Linked DNA regions of Homo sapiens: regions 1 and 3 are each linked to region 2. The links are contacts of gene promoters, found by promoter capture Hi-C in human tissues and cell types (Jung and others, 2019). All regions are on one chromosome and are shown on one strand. Each heading gives the region's core, a stretch centred on a gene start or on the middle of the fragment in contact. The rest is flanking DNA. Distances are from core to core; before and after follow the strand shown.

Region 1 (3,248 bases), core at 744-3,243, 1.4 Mb after region 2:
CCCTGTAAGCTACAAAATGCTGCCAAGAGCTGAGAAACATTGAAGATCTAAATAAATGAAGAGATATACCATTTATAAAGATTCAATATTAAGATGTCAATTCTTCCCAATTGTTCTATAGATTGAATGAAAAGTCCCATAAAAATTCCACCAGGGTTCTTTTTTAAACAAATTAATGAAATGAAATCCTAGAAGAGCCAAAACAATTTTGAAAATGTAGAAACTGGAGGAAATAAACCACCCGATTTCAAGACTTACTATATAGCTATAGTAATCAAAGCAGTGTGGTATTACATAAACATATTGACCAATGGAACAGAACACTCTCCTGAAACAGACCCGCATACACACAGTCAACTGATTTTCAACAAATGAGTAAAGGAAATGTCTTTTTAATAATGGGGGCTACAATTGGATATACATATGCAAAAAAAAAAATCAAACTTGATTCTTACCTCACATATACACCAAAACTTATTTGAAATGGCTCACAGACCTAAATGTAAGAGCCAAAACTTTAAAACTTGCAGAAGAAAACATAGTAAAATAAGAATCTTTGTGCCTCTGGCTTAGGCAAAGATTTCTCAGGAAGTACACAGAAAGCATGAACCATAAAACAAAATGAGAAACTAGACTTCATCAGAACTTAAAATTTCTGCTGTTTGAAATATACCACCAAGATGAAAAGGCAAGCAGCTGACTGGGAGGAAATACTCATAACACAAACATCTGAGAAAGGACTTATATGTAGGATATTCAAATAACTCTTCCAACTCAAAAACAGAAAAAGAACAATTTGAAAATGGGCAAGAGTTGAATAGTTACTTGACAAAACATGTACAAATGACCAATAAGTACATGAAAAAGTGCTCAACATCATTAGTTTTCAGAGAACTGCAAATTTAACTACAATGAGATACCACATTTCCACTAGAGTGGCTAAAATGTGTTGATGAGGATGTGGAGTAACTGGACTCTCATGCATTGCTGCTGGGAATGCAAAATGGTACCACCACTTTGTAAATTGTTGGCCACTTCTCCCAAACATACACTTACCTTATAATCCAACAGAAATGAAAACATATATCCACAGGAAGACTTCTATACATCTAGTCATGGCAACTTTATCATGACCAAAAACTGTATAGCACTGAAAAATCCATCACTAGGTAAACGGATAAAAAATTTCTGGTATATCCACACAAAGGAATACCACTGAGCAATGAAAAGGTCTGAATGACACACATTCAGGAATCTCAGAACCATTATGCTAGAAGATACAAAAAGGACTATATGATAAATGATATGAAACTCTACAGAAGTCTGAGTATACCTTTAACAAAACCCTACAGCTGTACACTTCAAATAGGTGCATTTTATATGTAAGTTATAGCTTGGTAAAGTTAACATTTTCTGCATATTAGAGGACATAAGATTTCTCCTCTTTAAAATAGGGACAATAATATCTACATCATATGTTGTTGTGATGCGTAAATGAGTTAGGATTAATTCATATGAAACACTTAAGGCTTGTCTGGCATATAATAAAAAAATGTTAGCAGGATAACTACACAACAAAGTCACTATAACCAGTGGTTCTCAACTTAGGGCAATTGTGCCCCCCAGGAGAAACTAGGCAATGTCTGGAAACACTGCTGACTGTCATGACTGGAGGGGTACTACCGGCACCTGGCCAATAGAGGCCAGGGATGTTGCTGAACATCCCTACAAGGCATAGAACAGCCTACACAGCAAAGAATAATCTGACCCAAAATGTCAATACAACAGAGGTTCAGAAACCCATTTATTAAAGAAAATAAGTGACAGAACAATCCACAGATGGAAAAGAAATATTCCAAGTGCATATAATCAACATGGAATTCAAATCCAGAATGTGTAGGTGTGTGTGTGTGTTGGTGGTGGTGCAAAAGTAATTGCATTTTTGGACCATTAATTTTAAATCATTATAACTAGGCTCAAACACATCTTTATTAATCAAAATAGGAACCATTACAATCAACACTTTTTTGCCAACGAGAAATAAATTTGTTTATTCCTGCAGCATAAACATCCATGCTTCTGGATTCAACAAACTCTTGGAAAGCATTTTTCTGCATCCTGCTGGTGTGGAAGCATTTCACCTGCAAAAAGCTGTCAAGATGCTTCAAGAAGTGAAGCATCCAATGGCTGGCCACTGTGTTCCTCATATTCAAGGCTCTAGTCTGCTTTGCAAAACTTCTTGAATCACAGCTGCCCTGTATGTTCGTTAGTAGTTCCTGGGCCAAATGCGCTGTTCATGTTTCAAGTTATCTCTGCTGCGTTATGACCCATTTTGAACTCAAATAAGAAAACCACTTGAAGTTGCTTTTTGTCTAATATCATTTCCATAGTCTAAAATAAATATAAACAGCAAGTAATAAGTCATTAGCAAAAAAAAAAAAAACAAAGTGAGAAATGCCCATTAAAATGATGTATAACATAACCACATTTAAGAAGGTTTAAGAGGGTATTCCAGTATCAAATGACAAATTTCAACGATGCAAAAACCTCAATTACTTTTGCACCATCCTAATATACCCTACAAATCAAAAAGAAAAGAACAAGACCAACAGGAAAAAGAAGGAAGAATGAGACTAAGACCAGAAAACAAAACATCCTCAACCTGCAAGGAATGCAAAGTGAACACAAGATAAGAGTTTTAAAACCAATAAACTGACAAAAAATAAAAATTCTGACAATATTACATGTTGGTGATGACACAGAAGAACAAGAATCTGTATTATACACAACAGACAAAAGGTAATGATGGCCAATATGTATACACGCATGAATGCACATATACGTTCTTATGCAAGTATTAGAGTAACAAATAATGAATAAACATAGTGGTTACTCTATAGACTGATATCTTCAATTACTGTTCCTGCTTTTTGTAAGCTTTTAAATGGTTCCCATTCACTGAACACTTATGTATCCAGTAAAGTAGATAACATAGGTGCTTTATATACTTCATATTTGTTAGTCCTTAAATCTGTTGCAGATATTAATAGTCCTCTTTTTTCAGATGTGTAAAACTGAGTTTCAGTGTAAACTGAATCTCTGAGAGATTAAGTCATTTTCTCAAGGTTCAGAACAGTAAGTGGCAGAGTAAGTGCAGGATTGAGGCTAGGGTCTTTCTACTCCAAAGCCTAACCCTGTCCGTCCCAGAGTGATACAATATTATAACCTACGCCCTGATATTTAACAAA
Region 2 (2,932 bases), core at 306-2,805:
CAACAAAACCCAGAAGTCTGAAAAGTTACAACGTGAAAGAGGACATCAAGTGAAGGGAAAAATCATGGTAGGAAAGAAAGATGAAGCCAGCAGTCCCCACTCACTGAGCTAGAAGACCTGGAACACTAGACAGAGGTGGTTCTGAGCTTCCTAGTGGCTGAGGAGAGGAGTGAAAGCGGACCCCAGCCCCCGATCTAGCATGGGAGGATGAAAGCACAGCCATTGTTCTGGAGACACTTTCTGGTTGTCATTATACAGGCTCCCTGGAGGATGTGCCTCCTCCCCCTTCAGGATTTAGCTCCTCTACTTCCCCTGGGCTGGTGTGGGCACATTGTCTGTGCTTTGACAGTCCCTAGATCCCATGTGTTCTAGAACCTTCTCTCCCAAAGCAGAACTTTTTTTTTTTTTCCTGTTTTCTGTTTTTTAAATCTATCTCAGCCTCCTGACAAGCAATAAGATTTGGAATATTTGTTGAGGGGATAAATAAATGAACTCCTTAGTCAGTGCAGAGATCTGTGCATTGCGGCCATTTCTTGAGCATTGCCGCCATTTCTTGAGCATTGCCATGTGCAGGTCAGAGACGTGGGAGCCCCCACACAGCGGGGAGGAGAGCAGAGGCGGAGGATGGGGGGGCTGGGCTAACCCAGGCTTTCCAAGCTGTGATGGGGCAGGAGCTTCTCCACTAGCTCGAGGGAGGGGGAACTTGGGCTCTGGGCGCCTGTTTTGGAGGTTGCATCCCTTTGAGGGGCGCTACGGGTTGCAACTCACGCAGGAAAGGTGACCTTAGTAGTGATGGAGGTGGAGTGGGCCAATTTCTGGATCTTTATTTAGTCACCTCCAGCCTTGCTGGGACAGGGATCTGGGGCTAAGCTGCTGTGGTCTCGGCACCCTCTGTCCCCACTTCCCCTCGAGGACGGCTGTTTGAATATTGTCTAGTGTGGGCCATTTACCCCCGTGGGCAGGAGGAAGGTAGGAGGGACTTCAAAGGAGACTTCAAGGGCCCCCCCACTGCCCTTCTAACCTTGCAGATTCCCCTCTCGGGCCTGTTTCCTCTTCTCTCAACCAGCGATGCCAGGCTGAGGCTGTAGGTTCGAGAATCACGTAGGTAATGGGCCTGGCACATAGTAGGCTCTCAAGAAAAGGTTGGAGCCTCTTGAGGAGTCTGCCTGTGATGGATGCGGAGCGCAGACCCAGCGCAGTGCGGCGATTCGCCCAAGGTCACACAGCCGCCCCCCCCAATTCGGACCCCGGGCGGCCTGACTCCGGGGGCCGGGGCTTGTCGGGAGCCAGCGTGGGGGCGAGCAGTGTTTGGAAGAGCGGCCGCGGCAGTGGGTGGGAAGGGGCTTCTATTTTGGAGCGGGTGAGAGGAGCGGGACACGCGGAGGAGGTAAGGAAGGGGTAGGCCCTCTCCGGGATCTCTGTCCCCCAGTCACCTTCCTGCGACCCTTCCTGGGAGGGGCGTCCTGGGCGGTGGGGGAAGGTGGGAGGGGCGGGCGGTTACCTCATCGCCGCCTCCGGGAGGCCCCGCTCGCTCGCGCCGGCGGCTGGGGCGGCGACTCCAGGCGCGGAAGCGAGAGAAGGATAGAGGCACAGAGGCTCCGGGAGGCAGCGCTGCCCCCCGCGCCCCGCACCGCTGCGGGACCCGCGCCGCGAGAGGGGCGGACTTCGGCGCCTCGCGCGTCCGCCGGCGCCTGGGTTGGCGCTGCGGGGCGGAGGCGGTGTCTGAGCGCCGCTCCGGCTCTGCTCTCTCTCGAGCTTCGGCACCCGCCCGAGCCGCTCGCGCGCCCGCCACCTGTCTGCCCACTCGGCTGTCTGTCTGCCCTCCCGCCGCCAGCTCCTGCCTCGGGCCTGCCCTCTCCGGTCTCGGTGCTCCGAGGGGCGACGAGAAGCGCGACGGGGCCGTGGCGCACCGGGCAGGGCGCGCGGGGCGCACGGCCTGGGGGCGCACGGTGCGGCGCCGGCCCATGAGGCTTTCCAGCGCGGGGAGCGACAGCGCCGGCCGGCCATGGGGGGTAGCCTGCGGGTGGCCGTTCTAGGCGCCCCGGGCGTGGGCAAGACGGCCATCATCCGCCAGTTCCTGTTCGGTGACTACCCCGAGCGCCACCGGCCCACGGACGGGCCGCGCCTCTACCGACCCGCGGTGCTGCTCGACGGCGCCGTCTACGACTTGAGCATCCGCGACGGCGACGTCGCTGGCCCCGGCTCGAGCCCCGGGGGTCCGGAGGTAGCGGCTCGAGGAGCGGGCAGGGGCGTGTGACAGTGTGAGGGGTGTGCGTGCTCGGTGCACACGTGCGTGTCCGCGTGGAGGCCTCGGGCGCCTGGCTGTGCTCCGGGATGGAGGGATGTGTGTGCGTCCTGGGATACTTGCGTTTCAGCCCTTCCCGCCGACCTGGAGACGCCCAAGCCCAGGCTGGAGGCCGGGCGATTTTGCCCAGGGGCGTTCCCTTGCTCCTGTGAGCGCCTCCACCTTTGCCTGCCTCGGCTGGGGGTGTGGAGCAGCTCTTGGTGGTGCATAACGGTGCCTTCCCGAGAGTGTGGCGTTTTGTGTTTGGGGCCTTGAGCAGAGCTACAATGGGAGAGACTGGGGTCAGGAGCAGGGGTGTACTTTCTACGGGGGCTGGTGGAGGGGTTCATTCTCTGCCCTATCATTTTTGTCCCCTGGAGCGAAGACTCGTTTAGTAATTTGTGCAAAGTAAAGGACAGACCTCCGACCCTAGAGCAGTGAAGAGGAAAGAGCAGGCAGGATTAAGCAGGGCTTCCTGGAGGGAGTGGCATTTGAGCTGAACCTGGAAGACCGAGTGAAGTTCTGAGTAAAGGAAGTGGCAAAAACATACCAGGTGGAAAGACCAGCAGGTGCTTACGCTACGGTCATAAACGGTTACAGCTGACAATCTGGGGGCGTGGTGGACCACGGGACTCGGGCCAAGGGCTT
Region 3 (2,818 bases), core at 172-2,671, 1.4 Mb after region 2:
AGTGTTGGGATTACAGGCATGAGCCACTGCGCCCAGCCAGTAGTTGTTTTTAAATAAAGTGCACACCCTTACTTTATTCATGGAAGTAAGGTAATGTCAAGGTAATAATTTAAATTGCTATAGAAATATAATGCATTTTAAAGACATCTACTAAACTAAATGACAGATCCTTAAAGAAGTCTTAATGTGTTATTGGCAAGTTACTACAGCTAATTTGACAAGAGAAGAGCATAAAAACTTAAACATGCCCAGAGCAGATTTTCCACTCCCAGGGTCTTACTTGGTAACCAGTCTGTCTGTGCTGAAGCCAGTTACAGGTCATCGATAAGTGATGTCTAGGTACTAGTTGCATGCAGATAAGAGGATTACTGTTACAGCCCCACAGAGAACTCATTGAGTGGTTCTCCCTGGGTGTTAGACTGTTTTGTGGACTGTCTTGTGCATCAACTAAAAGGAAAAATGAATTTGACTTTGGTTTATAAGAAATGATTCATAACTATATTATTTTCACATTTGTTCTCTGGGTAGAGTTTAGTTCAGAATTCTCCCAGTTTTAATACTTAGCATGTTAGGCCAATCTTGCATTATTACAAAGAACCTGAGAATGGGTATTATATATAAAGAGGCTTGGGCCAGGTGCAGTGGCTCACGCCTGTAATCCCAGTACTTTGGGAGGCTGAGGTGGGTGGATCACTTGAGGTCAGGAGTTCAATACCAGCCTGGGCAACATGTTGAAACCCCATCTCTACTAAAAATCCAAAAATTAGCTGGGCACGATGGTGCTTGCGTGTAATCCCAGCTACTCAGGAGGCTGAGGCAGGAGAATCACTTGAACCCGGGAGGTAGAGGTTGCAGTGAGCTAAGATTGCACCATTGCACTCCAACCTGGGCGACAGAGTGAGACTCCGTCCCAAAAAAAAAAAAAAAAAAAAAAAAAAAAAACCAGGCTTAATTGGCTCACGGTTCTGCACACTGTATAGGAAGCATAGTGCTGGTATCTGCTTTTGGGGAGGCTTCAGAAAGCTTACAGTCATGGTAGGCAAAGGAGAAGCAGGCGTCTCACATGGTGGAAGTGGGGCAGGGGAAGTGTGCCATGCACTTTTATACAGCCAGATCTCGTGTGAACTCAGAGTGAGAGCTCACTTATCACCAAGGGGATGGCCCAAGCTATTCATGAAGGATCTGCAGTCATGATGCAAACACCTGTTAGAGGCTTTACCTCTAACATTAGGGATTGCATTTCAACATTGGGGATTACATTTCAGCATGAGATTTGAGCAGGGACAAATTCCCAATCTATATTACCCAGAAAGTGATATATACCACTTATAAATTAACAAATTCAGCCTGCTTGATGTAAATTTGCTTTAATGGATTTAGTGTCCCCAGCCTTTTCCAGATTTCTAGCTTCAGACTTTAGAACTCAATCTTAGTTGGAGGAGAAGCCCTTTGAGATTTCACACTGGTCTTCTAAACAAGGACACCATGCCAGAGAGCAGCCCAGATGGTGGCTACCTCCACTGGTGCTGTAACTTCTAAAAAAGTACATCTTGTTCCAGTGAGTAGTAGCTCTAGCTGACAATACTTTTACAGGGAGTAAAGGGGCATGAGGTTGAGACCCAGAGGTGAATTAAATATTGTATTTTCTTGAAATTATTAGCTTTTCAAGTATAAACATTAAAAGACAATGCTACATTATGTGGTGGGCTTTATGTTTGGGCTCAGATCCTTCCTATAGGAACTCCTGATTTTATAACAGGCAGCAAAAGTAGTTTGATACTATGACTTGTACTGATTTCTAACTTTTTAGGAACTTGGAATATATACCATGTCTGGCCTGATTTGTAACTGATATTGCTTTGTCTTTTATTATTGACTAATGATTGAAATTCTAGAATAGGTTTAGTTCTTAGAAATAATGTGAATTTTGTATTTCTGCAGATTGCAGAACTGCAGTTTTTTTCCATTTTCCCCCCTGTGTTAAACAGTAACTTATTAGGCTGATAGGGTGCTGGTTGTTTCTGCCCATTTGCCTGTTGATTGTTCATTTTATCCAGATGATGGTGTATCCAGCTACTCTTATAAATTCAGCTACTGCCTGACTGAATTTCTGTGAATTACTGTGATCTCAGAAATAACTAGTGCAGTCAAGAATAACTGATAATAATTAAGCCATCCACTTGCTGCTGTGGAGGGAAATAAAGCGTAAGAAGATAGCTGATAATATGGCATACAGGAAAATAGGAACCTTTGGACTTGATCTTACCAGTGTCTTCTGTAAACATGTTCAGCAGGCCCTCTTTGCCAATTACTGTCCTGGTGGAGGCACTGAGGGTAGCACTGGGGAACGATAATAGTTGGAAATTTTTATACTTCTGAAATGCAAGGAAGAAATAGGGAACAAACATGATAATTATGGCTGAAAGGAAGAAGAAATCTTATTGTGGACCCACTTAACCAGGGTAGTGTTGAAGAATGTTCTTATAGAAGAGCTGCCTGGTAGTTCCACAGTCTCTCTCTCAAAAGGCCTCTGTGAACCATCCCACACATACCCTTCAGCAGAAACCTGCCTTACCAGTACAGATTCCAAAGTCTATTCAAAGCTAAATGCAAATCCTATGATTTCTTTGAAACTTTTCCTTACTTGTCTGATGGTGGTATTTTCCCTCTGAATTATTGCAGTATTTACTTCCTGTCTGCACCAGACTGACTAGGGGTAAAGAAACTTTTCCTTGGTACCAGGTACTATACAAGGTTACATTTAATCTTTACAACCTTCCTGTGGTGTAAGTTCAGCTGCTTTATTTTATATAGTTGA

What was found. Contacts are between HindIII fragments. The study calls those that stand out against the background at their distance.
Region 1: a contact is called between a fragment that was not itself captured here and the fragment with the promoter of RASL10A in region 2, in 1 of the 25 tissues and cell types used here (dorsolateral prefrontal cortex).
Region 3: a fragment that was not itself captured here is called in contact with the fragment with the promoter of RASL10A in region 2 in 2 of the 25 tissues and cell types used here (dorsolateral prefrontal cortex and spleen).

The regions. Positions count from the first base shown.
Region 1 is chr22:27,923,490-27,926,737 of GRCh38, reverse strand. The region is part of intron 1 of TTC28-AS1 (TTC28 antisense RNA 1); the gene reads right to left. Among named protein-coding and RNA genes, the nearest start is that of MIR3199-1, 4.5 kb to the right of the region's middle. The HindIII fragment of the contact is 4,991 bases long and covers 1-3,248 here.
Region 2 is chr22:29,314,320-29,317,251 of GRCh38, reverse strand. RASL10A (RAS like family 10 member A) reads left to right here and starts at 1,555. Exons shown (of 3, transcript NM_006477.5): 1 at 1,555-2,224. The coding sequence starts at 2,006. RefSeq lists enhancers at 1,559-2,363, 2,364-2,932. The HindIII fragment of the contact is 15,140 bases long and covers 1-2,932 here.
Region 3 is chr22:27,870,206-27,873,023 of GRCh38, reverse strand. The region is part of intron 8 of PITPNB (phosphatidylinositol transfer protein beta); the gene reads left to right. Among named protein-coding and RNA genes, the nearest start is that of PITPNB, 48 kb to the left of the region's middle. The HindIII fragment of the contact is 6,796 bases long and covers 1-2,818 here.